3 separate regions of the Homo sapiens genome follow, and all the other regions are linked to region 3. Evidence: promoter capture Hi-C in 16 types of primary human blood cells and fetal thymus (Javierre and others, 2016). All regions are on one chromosome and are shown on one strand. The core of a region is centred on a gene start or on the middle of the fragment in contact, and the rest is flanking DNA. Distances in the headings are between cores, read along the strand shown. Region 1 overlaps TRPM4 (transient receptor potential cation channel subfamily M member 4). Region 2 overlaps TRPM4 (transient receptor potential cation channel subfamily M member 4). Region 3 holds the start of LIN7B (lin-7 cell polarity scaffold B).

Evidence for each region. The method cuts DNA at HindIII sites, captures the fragments that hold promoters and counts their contacts. A CHiCAGO score of 5 or more calls a contact.
Region 1: a fragment that was not itself captured here is called in contact with the fragment with the promoter of LIN7B in region 3 in 1 of 17 cell types (endothelial precursors); the score reaches 6.4 in endothelial precursors.
Region 2: a contact is called between a fragment that was not itself captured here and the fragment with the promoter of LIN7B in region 3, in 1 of 17 cell types (megakaryocytes). The highest score is 5.2, in megakaryocytes.

Annotation. Positions count from the first base shown.
Region 1 is chr19:49,191,211-49,194,096 of GRCh38, forward strand. The region is part of intron 16 of TRPM4 (transient receptor potential cation channel subfamily M member 4); the gene reads left to right. Among named protein-coding and RNA genes, the nearest start is that of TRPM4, 35 kb to the left of the region's middle. The HindIII fragment of the contact is 1,803 bases long and covers 674-2,476 here.
Region 2 is chr19:49,209,986-49,212,685 of GRCh38, forward strand. TRPM4 (transient receptor potential cation channel subfamily M member 4) reads left to right here. Exons shown (of 25, transcript NM_017636.4): 21 at 224-420; 22 at 725-857; 23 at 1,030-1,102; 24 at 1,179-1,284; 25 at 1,509-1,851. The coding sequence ends at 1,513. Among named protein-coding and RNA genes, the nearest start is that of TRPM4, 54 kb to the left of the region's middle. RefSeq lists an enhancer at 646-1,284. The HindIII fragment of the contact is 8,012 bases long and covers 1-2,700 here.
Region 3 is chr19:49,112,785-49,115,664 of GRCh38, forward strand. LIN7B (lin-7 cell polarity scaffold B) reads left to right here and starts at 1,586. Exons shown (of 6, transcript NM_022165.3): 1 at 1,586-1,657; 2 at 2,065-2,183; 3 at 2,476-2,547. The coding sequence starts at 1,621. RefSeq lists a silencer at 1,406-1,985. The HindIII fragment of the contact is 9,910 bases long and covers 1,228-2,880 here.

The sequences.
Region 1 (2,886 bases), core at 325-2,824, 78 kb after region 3:
TTTCTTTTTTTTTGATACGGAGTCTCCCTCAGTTGCCCAGGCTGGAGTGCAGTGGTACAATCTTGGCTCACTGCAGCCTCTGTTTCCTGGGTTCCTGATCAGCCTGCCTCAGCCTCCCAAGTAGGTGGGAGTAGAAGTGCATGCCACTACGCCCAGCTAATTTTTGTATCTTTAAAGTAGAGTCGGGATTTCACCATGTTGGCCAGGCTGGTGTCAACCTCCTGACCTCAAGTGATCCGCGCACTTTGGCCTCCCAAAGTGCTGGGATTACAGGTGTGAGCCACCGGGCCCAGCCAGGGATTACATTTCTTTCTTTCTTTTTTGAAATGGGGTCTCGCTCTGTCGACCAGGCTGGAGTGCAGTGGTGTGATCTCCGCCTCCTGGGTTCAAGCGATTCTCCTGCCTCAGCCTCCCGAATAGCTGGGACTACAGGAGCCCACCACCACACCTGGCTAACTTTTGTACTTTTAGTAGTGACAGGGTTTCATCACATTGGCCAGGCTGGTCTTGAACTCCTGACCTTGTGATCCGCCCGCCTCAGCCTCCCAAAGTACTGGGATTACAGGCATGAGCCACCATGCCTGGCCCAGGGATTACATTTCAATGTGAGATTTGGAAGGGACAAACATCCAAACTATATCACACGTCCCATCAGGGACTGAGATACTGAGGAAGCTTCCCAGGTGCCAAGCTCAAGACTTGGCTCAAGATTTGGTTCTGCCATCAAGGAGGCCATCACCAGAAATTGATTTTCTTCATGCTACACATACTTCCATCCCTCTGTAGCAAGCGGAATCAGTTGATTGAGGGATTTTTCACCTATTTTGTTCGTGGTCCCAAGGCCCCTGCTTTTAATCACTATGCTATGGTTGCCGTTAAGGTATTTTAAAAGTCAGGCCTAAGCAAATGAAATAGAATATTTATCAAACTTCTTTTTTTGTTGTTGTTTTTGAGGCGGAGTCTTGCTCTGTCGCCAGGCAGGAGTGCGGTGCCGCGATCTCATCTCACTGCAACCTCCGCCTCCTGAGTTCAAGCGATTCTCCTGCCTCAGCCTCTCAAGTAGCTGGGATTACAGTCACCTGCCACCACGCCCAGCTAATTTTTTTGTATTTTTAGTAGAGACGGGGTTTCACCATGTTGGCCAGGATGCTCCCCATCTCCTGACTTTGTGATCTGTCCTCCTCAGCCTCCCAAAATGCTGGGATTACAGGCATGAGCCACCATGCCTGGCCTATATATAGTTTTTTAAGACAATGTAGAGAGGATACAAAATATTTATCTGTAGCCATAAAAAAGAACGAGATCATTTCCTTTGCAGTGACATGGTTGGAGCTGGAGGCCATTATCCATAACAAACTAACAGGAACAGAAAACCAAATACCCCATGTTCTCACTTATAAGTAAGAACTAAATGATGAGAACACATGGACACACAGAGTGAAACAACACACATTGGGGCCTATTGGAGGACAGAGGGTAGGGCGAGGGAGAGGACCAGGAAAAATAACTAGTGGGTACTAGGCTAAATACCTGGGTGATGGAATAATCTGTACAACAAACCCCCATGACACAAATTTACCTACCTAACAAACCTGCACATGTACCTCTGAACTAAAAATAAACGTCAAAAAATAAAAAAAAGAACAAAATATGTATCAAGAGAGAAGGGAAAAACTAAGATAAACATTTGGACCACTGAGAAAGGTTGATAGAAGGCCCCAGTGTCTGAGGTCAGGATCAGTAATGGTGTCCTTCCCTAGCAATTTCTCATCTGCACATGTGATGATGATGACGACCTTGATAACAGCTGATGTTATGAAACACGTACAATGAGCAACTACTGTGCTCAATTCTTTTGAAAATCAGTTGGTTTTTTTTTTTTTTTTTTGAGATGGAGTCTTACTCTGTCGCCCAGGCTGGAGTGCAGTGGCATGATCTCGGCTCACTGCAAGCTCCTCCTCCCGGGTTCACACCATTCTCCTGCCTCAGCCTCCTGAGTAGCTGGGACTACAGGTGCCCGCCACCACGCCCGGCTAATTTTTTTGTATTTTTAGTAGAGCTGGGGTTTCCCCGTGTTAGCCAGGATGGTCTCGATCTCCTGACCTCGTGATCTGCCCGCCTCGGCCTCCCAAAGTGCTGGGATTACAAGCATGAGCCACCGCACCCGTCCGGAAATCAGTTCGTTTAATTCCAACAACCCAGTGCAATAGGGCCTATAATTATTCTCATTTTGCAGGTGAAATAATGGAGTCATTCAGTCACTTGCCTCAGATCATGTGGTTGGTAAATGGTAGAGCCGAGATTTGATCCCAGATCCTCTTGTACCTGAGTCTGTGCTCTCAGCCCCTGTGGAGCCCCCCCACTGAGAGCTCTGTTGAAGGACAGATCCCAAGATCCCCCCAGAGAGGCTGGGGCTGAGCCCAGGAACCTGCCTGTGGCCTGGCTGGAGGTGATTCAAGATGGCAGATGTGGGGGAAGCTTTCTGACCCACCGCTCTCCCTTCTTACCAGGATTCTGCAGGAGAACTGTGAAATACCATGATGGTTTTCTCTATCAGTAGGGAGCTTGCTGTCCTCTCTGCATCTGACCTTCTTTCTCTAGGAGTTCTTAGTTTCTGTAGCTTTCACTATTCTCCTCCTTCTCCTCCTCCTTCTCCTCCTTGTCCTCCTCCTTGTCATCCTCCTTCTCCTCCTCCTCGTCATCCTCCTTCTCCTCCTCCTCTTCATCCTCCTCCTCCTTCTCCTCCTCTTCCTACTCATCCTCCTCCTCTTCCTCCTTCTCCTCATCCTCTTTCTCTTCCTCCTCCTCATCCTCCTCCTGCTCCTGCTCCTCCGCCTTCTCCTCATCCTACTTCTCCTCTTCATCCTCCTCCTGCTCCTGCTCCTC
Region 2 (2,700 bases), core at 8-2,507, 97 kb after region 3:
TGATCCGCCCACTCCGGCCTCCCAAAGTGCTGGGACTACAGGCGTGACCAAACGCCCTTGGCTCTAACCTGACTTCTAATCGCATCCTGTAACCTCTGACTTTAGTGATCTTGACTTCTGTCTGCTGCTATAGACTGAACAATTATTGCCTGGCATCTAACCTTCGTCCTTGCCCCTGGCTGGGCCCTGACCTCAAGTGACCTTTGACCTCTGGCCTTTGCAGTTACACATTCGGCAAAGTACAGGGCAACAGCGATCTCTACTGGAAGGCGCAGCGTTACCGCCTCATCCGGGAATTCCACTCTCGGCCCGCGCTGGCCCCGCCCTTTATCGTCATCTCCCACTTGCGCCTCCTGCTCAGGCAATTGTGCAGGCGACCCCGGAGCCCCCAGCCGTCCTCCCCGGCCCTCGAGCATTTCCGTAAGAACAGAGCTTGGCTTAAAAAGGAGAAATATAGGGGACCGGGAGCCTGGAAGGCGAGGGGAAGGGGGCATGCCCCAAATGACTAACGGGCGTGGCTTAGGTAGCGAGGGGCGGGGTTTAAGCAACAAGGGGCGGAGCTTAAGCACTGAGGGGCAGTGCTTACGGGTGAGGGGCGGGGCATGTTCTCGAATCACCAGGGGCTGGGTCTGGGATAGCGTGCGTGTTCTGAGGGTGTCGGAAGGGGCAGCTGGGATTGGGAAGGGGCGTGGCCTGAGCCCTTTGACTCCGCCCGCCCCTGCAGGGGTTTACCTTTCTAAGGAAGCCGAGCGGAAGCTGCTAACGTGGGAATCGGTGCATAAGGAGAACTTTCTGCTGGCACGCGCTAGGGACAAGCGGGAGAGCGACTCCGAGCGTCTGAAGCGCACGTCCCAGAAGTGAGAGCGGGGCCTGGTCGGGGATGGGGCTTCTGGCCTGGGGCGGATCCTGACTTCAGCTGAAGGCAGGGTCCTGGGAGGGAGGGAGAGAGGGAGGAGGCCCGGGAAGCAGGCAGAGCCCTGGGGGTGGGTGGGCTGCGGGTGCCCCCGGTAAGAGGCCCTCCCTTCTCAGGGTGGACTTGGCACTGAAACAGCTGGGACACATCCGCGAGTACGAACAGCGCCTGAAAGTGCTGGAGCGGGAGGTGAGGCCTTGGGGCCTGGCTGGGGGACTGTGGCAGGGGTCCCATCTCCCGCTCTGACATTCCTCCCATTCCGCAGGTCCAGCAGTGTAGCCGCGTCCTGGGGTGGGTGGCCGAGGCCCTGAGCCGCTCTGCCTTGCTGCCCCCAGGTGGGCCGCCACCCCCTGACCTGCCTGGGTCCAAAGGTCAGTGTGTAGCATCAGCCTGTGCATCTCCAGCCTCTGTTCCTGTATTTTTGCGTGTTTTTCTCTCTCGGCACCTTTCCAGTGTCCCTGGGTCACTCTCTTGGTCTCCTTTGAGCCTTTTGTACTCTCGCCTTCGTCTTTCTTCTTTTTTGCCAGTCTCCCAGTTTTTCTGTCTCTCCCCTTCCCTGCCAATCACCTGCTCTCTCTTTTCTCTCTTCCCCCAGACTGAGCCCTGCTGGCGGACTTCAAGGAGAAGCCCCCACAGGGGATTTTGCTCCTAGAGTAAGGCTCATCTGGGCCTCGGCCCCCGCACCTGGTGGCCTTGTCCTTGAGGTGAGCCCCATGTCCATCTGGGCCACTGTCAGGACCACCTTTGGGAGTGTCATCCTTACAAACCACAGCATGCCCGGCTCCTCCCAGAACCAGTCCCAGCCTGGGAGGATCAAGGCCTGGATCCCGGGCCGTTATCCATCTGGAGGCTGCAGGGTCCTTGGGGTAACAGGGACCACAGACCCCTCACCACTCACAGATTCCTCACACTGGGGAAATAAAGCCATTTCAGAGGAATCGTGTCCGGAGGCTTGATTCCTGGGGGAGCTGGTGGGTGTCTAGATCCAGGATGGGAGCTGGAGCTGGGGTGTTGGGTTTGGGGTTCTTGGTGGATTTGCTGCTGTAATTCAGATATTTTGGAGTCCGTTTCCTCCCTTGAGCCCCATTGTTCTTGCCGGAGACCCAGCACTTCTGTCTGCACTGTTCTGACGGCTCTCGCTTCAGTAGGACAAGACCCCATCTGTACCCCCTCCCACCCAGTTTCAACTTTCCAGTGGAAAAATAACTCAGTGATAATAAGCAAATTATTTCCTGGAATGGAGGTGGGTGGGTGTTGTGTACATCTGCTTTGGCAATAGGGAAACGGATGATGCAAATTTGAGTAGATAAATGCATACGTGTCTTTAAAAAGTCTAATTAGTGGGAAATTGCAGGCCAGGCGCACACAGGGTTGAGGCAAATATGTGTGATTATACATGCAGCTTAACTAAATAACCCATAACAAGCTAAACTGGTAATGACAAGGTTGAACTGACAGCAATCATTAGTTAAATAGCAAGAAAGCCACCAACAACCAACACATCCAAAAATCAAAACCAAACATCCTTCCTCCAAATTGGAGGAGATCCAAGTATCTGTCACCGTGGGTGCAGAGTAGCGTTGAAACATTGCCAAGTGTTGTGTGGCAACTGCAACTTCTCTGGAAGATGCTGAGTTAGTTCTCACCAACCCAAGTAGTAATAATCACTGTAATGTAACCTACTTCCTTCCTTCCTTCCTTCCTTCCTTCCTTCCTTCCTTCCTCCCTCCCTCCTTTCCTCCCTTCCTCCCTCCTTCCCTCCCTCCTTCTTCCTTCCTTTCTTTTCT
Region 3 (2,880 bases), core at 336-2,835:
CTATGCCCCAATATTCAAACATGCCTGCAGACCAGGTTGCTCTTTTGAGCCCTAGACCTAGATCGATAGTTTCTCCCCATGGATTCTGCATAGGCTCCTCAAATTCAAAATATCCAGTATCGGCCAGGCAAGGTGGCTCGCGCCTGTAATCCCAGCACTTTGGGAGGCTGAGGCAGGTGGATCACTTGAGGTCAGGAGTTCGAGACCAGCCTGGCCATCATGGTGAAACCCCATCTCTATGAAAAATACAAAAATTTGGCAGGTGTGGAGGTGCACACCTGTACTCTCAGCTACTCAGGAGGCTGAGGCAGGAGAATTGCTTGCACCCGGGAGGCAGAGGTTGCAATGAGCCGAGATCACGCCACTGCACTCGAGACTGGGCAACAGAGGGAAGACTGTGTCTCAAAAACAAAATATCCAGTATCCCTCTTTCAGTGTAGACCATCTTAAAAATGGCACCAAAGCACCTTAATACTGTCTTCTCCTGCACCTCCCAATCCCCTTATATAGCCAAGCACCAAGGCTTGTCTAGACATTTCCCACATCTGCCCACCCATCTTCTGTGCTTTGGCCCTGGTGCTAGCTGCCACCTGGATGGCTGTGGTAGCCTCGTAAGTTGCCCCGCTGCTTCTCCTCTTGTTCTTGTCCAAACCAGTCTCCACAGTGGCTACAGTGATTTTTTTTTTTTCAATAGATACGAGGTCTCACTATATTGCCTATGCTGGTCTTGAACTCCTGGGCTCAAGTAGTCTTGCTGCAGCCTCCCAAAGCGCTAGGATTACAGGTGTGAGCCACCGTGCCCGGCCCCAGTGATCTTAAAATACAAATTTGAGGCCCAACCTGGGCGACAGAGCGAGGCTCCGTCTCAAAAATAATAATAATAATAATATAATAATAATACAAATTTGAGTGTCATATTTTTCTCTTAGGAGTTTGCATGAAGCCCCAAATCCTCAAGGCGCATATGCCAACGCAGGAGCCCAGGCATAAACTATCCTGCCGACCTTTTCACCTCATCATCAACCAATCCTAACTCTGCTTCCAGCCACGTGGGCTCTTTCTGGGTGGTGGGGGTGACCCAAGCTCCACCTCTTGTTCATCTTACCTCCCAGGACTGTATGTCAATGTCCCTCCTCTAGGATTTCCTTCGTTTTCTAGATCATCACCTCCCCACTCTCAGCTCTCATCACAGCCGTAGTTGGTCGTCTACCTCCCCTATAGACTGGAAGCTTCGTTCGGGCCGTGGGCTTGGCTGTCCTGCTCACCACGGTGTCCATGACTTGGGCTCAGATGTTTCACAAGAGTTTGTTGAATGAATGTGGGGAAAGGATGGACAGGGGATAGACGGGTGTGGAGGGCAGGCAGACACGGATCCTGAAAGGTACACACAGACCGAACCTGCAGTGGGAGGGGTCGCCAACAGGACCGACTGGCCGGGGCGGAGGGCAGGGCGCGGCTGGCGCGCGGCAGGTGGTCGGAGCAGTCGGGCGAGGGAGAGCTGGGCGCTCTCCAGGCTGCGCCTCCGCAGGGGGCGCCCGTGGCCCGGGGCGTGGCCTCGCGCAGCCCCGCCCTCCTCGCCGGCGCCAGGGCAGGCGGGCGGCTGGCAGCTGTGGCGCCGACATGGCTGCGCTGGTGGAGCCGCTGGGGCTGGAGCGGGGTAAGCGTGCGCCAGGGGGCCCTGCCCACCCGGGCCGCGGCCTACATACCCAGCCCCCGGTCCCCGCCCTTCCCGGGTCAGGCCAGTGCGGGTGGGCCAGCGGACCCGGAGGGGGTGGGCGGGGCGGGCGCCGGGGCCGGGCGGTCGCTAGGTGTGGGAGGCTCCCTGGGCGCGGGCCGGGACGCTGGGCGCCCGCCTTACAACCCGGCCTGTGGAGGGGTCCCGGGGCCGCAGGGCCGCTGGTGGCAGTCTCTCCTGCGCCACCCTGGACTCTGCGGGGTGTCCGACTAGGCTTCGGCCGTCCTCCCCGGACTGTGCGCTCGGCCTCACTCCGCCGCTCTCCTTGCTTCTCTGCGTCTCGGGGTCTCTGACACTCGGGGTTTCTGCGCCCCGCCCCCGCCCCGCAGACGTGTCCCGGGCGGTTGAGCTCCTCGAGCGGCTCCAGCGCAGCGGGGAGCTGCCGCCGCAGAAGCTGCAGGCCCTCCAGCGAGTTCTGCAGAGCCGCTTCTGCTCCGCTATCCGAGAGGTGAGGGGCGCGCGGCGCAGGGGCGCGAGCTGGTGGCCGTCGTCCTCCTCCTCCTCCTCCTGCTTGTCCCGAGCCCGGAGACTACGCCTCCCGGCAGCTCCCGAGGCGGCCCGCCTTGGGGTGCCAACGCTTCAGCTCAGGGGTTCTTCGGGAGTTGTAGTTTTCTCGGCCTTCTGTTGCGGGGGCGGGGCGGATCCTTGCGTGGTAGCGGGAGAGGGTCTAGAGGCCTGAACTCCTGCGTCTAGGGCTGGAGGAGCTGGCGACTCCCTGATGCCGCTGCCTCCTCACCCAGGTGTATGAGCAGCTTTATGACACGCTGGACATCACCGGCAGCGCCGAGATCCGAGCCCATGCCACAGCCAAGGTGGGCCCCGCACCCCATTGCTCCTGGTGTCTATTTAACTGCCTAGTCGAACTCAATATCTCCTTCATGCCAGTCATTTCTGTTTCCTCCCTCATGATTTTTGCTAAATCTATGTGCCACCTTACTATTAGTAAATAATCGCACATTTTTAACTTAAATGTCATACTAAGGCATCTTTAGCAACTGCAAATGGAAACAGTATGGCATGGTTGGTAGAAGATAACCTTCAACATCTGTACAGTGCAAACCAGGAAACTCATGGCGCTCTGACCTCTCACTGCACAATAGTTAGATGCTGCTACCTCTTGCTGCTGTCCGGAGGCTCAGATCTCC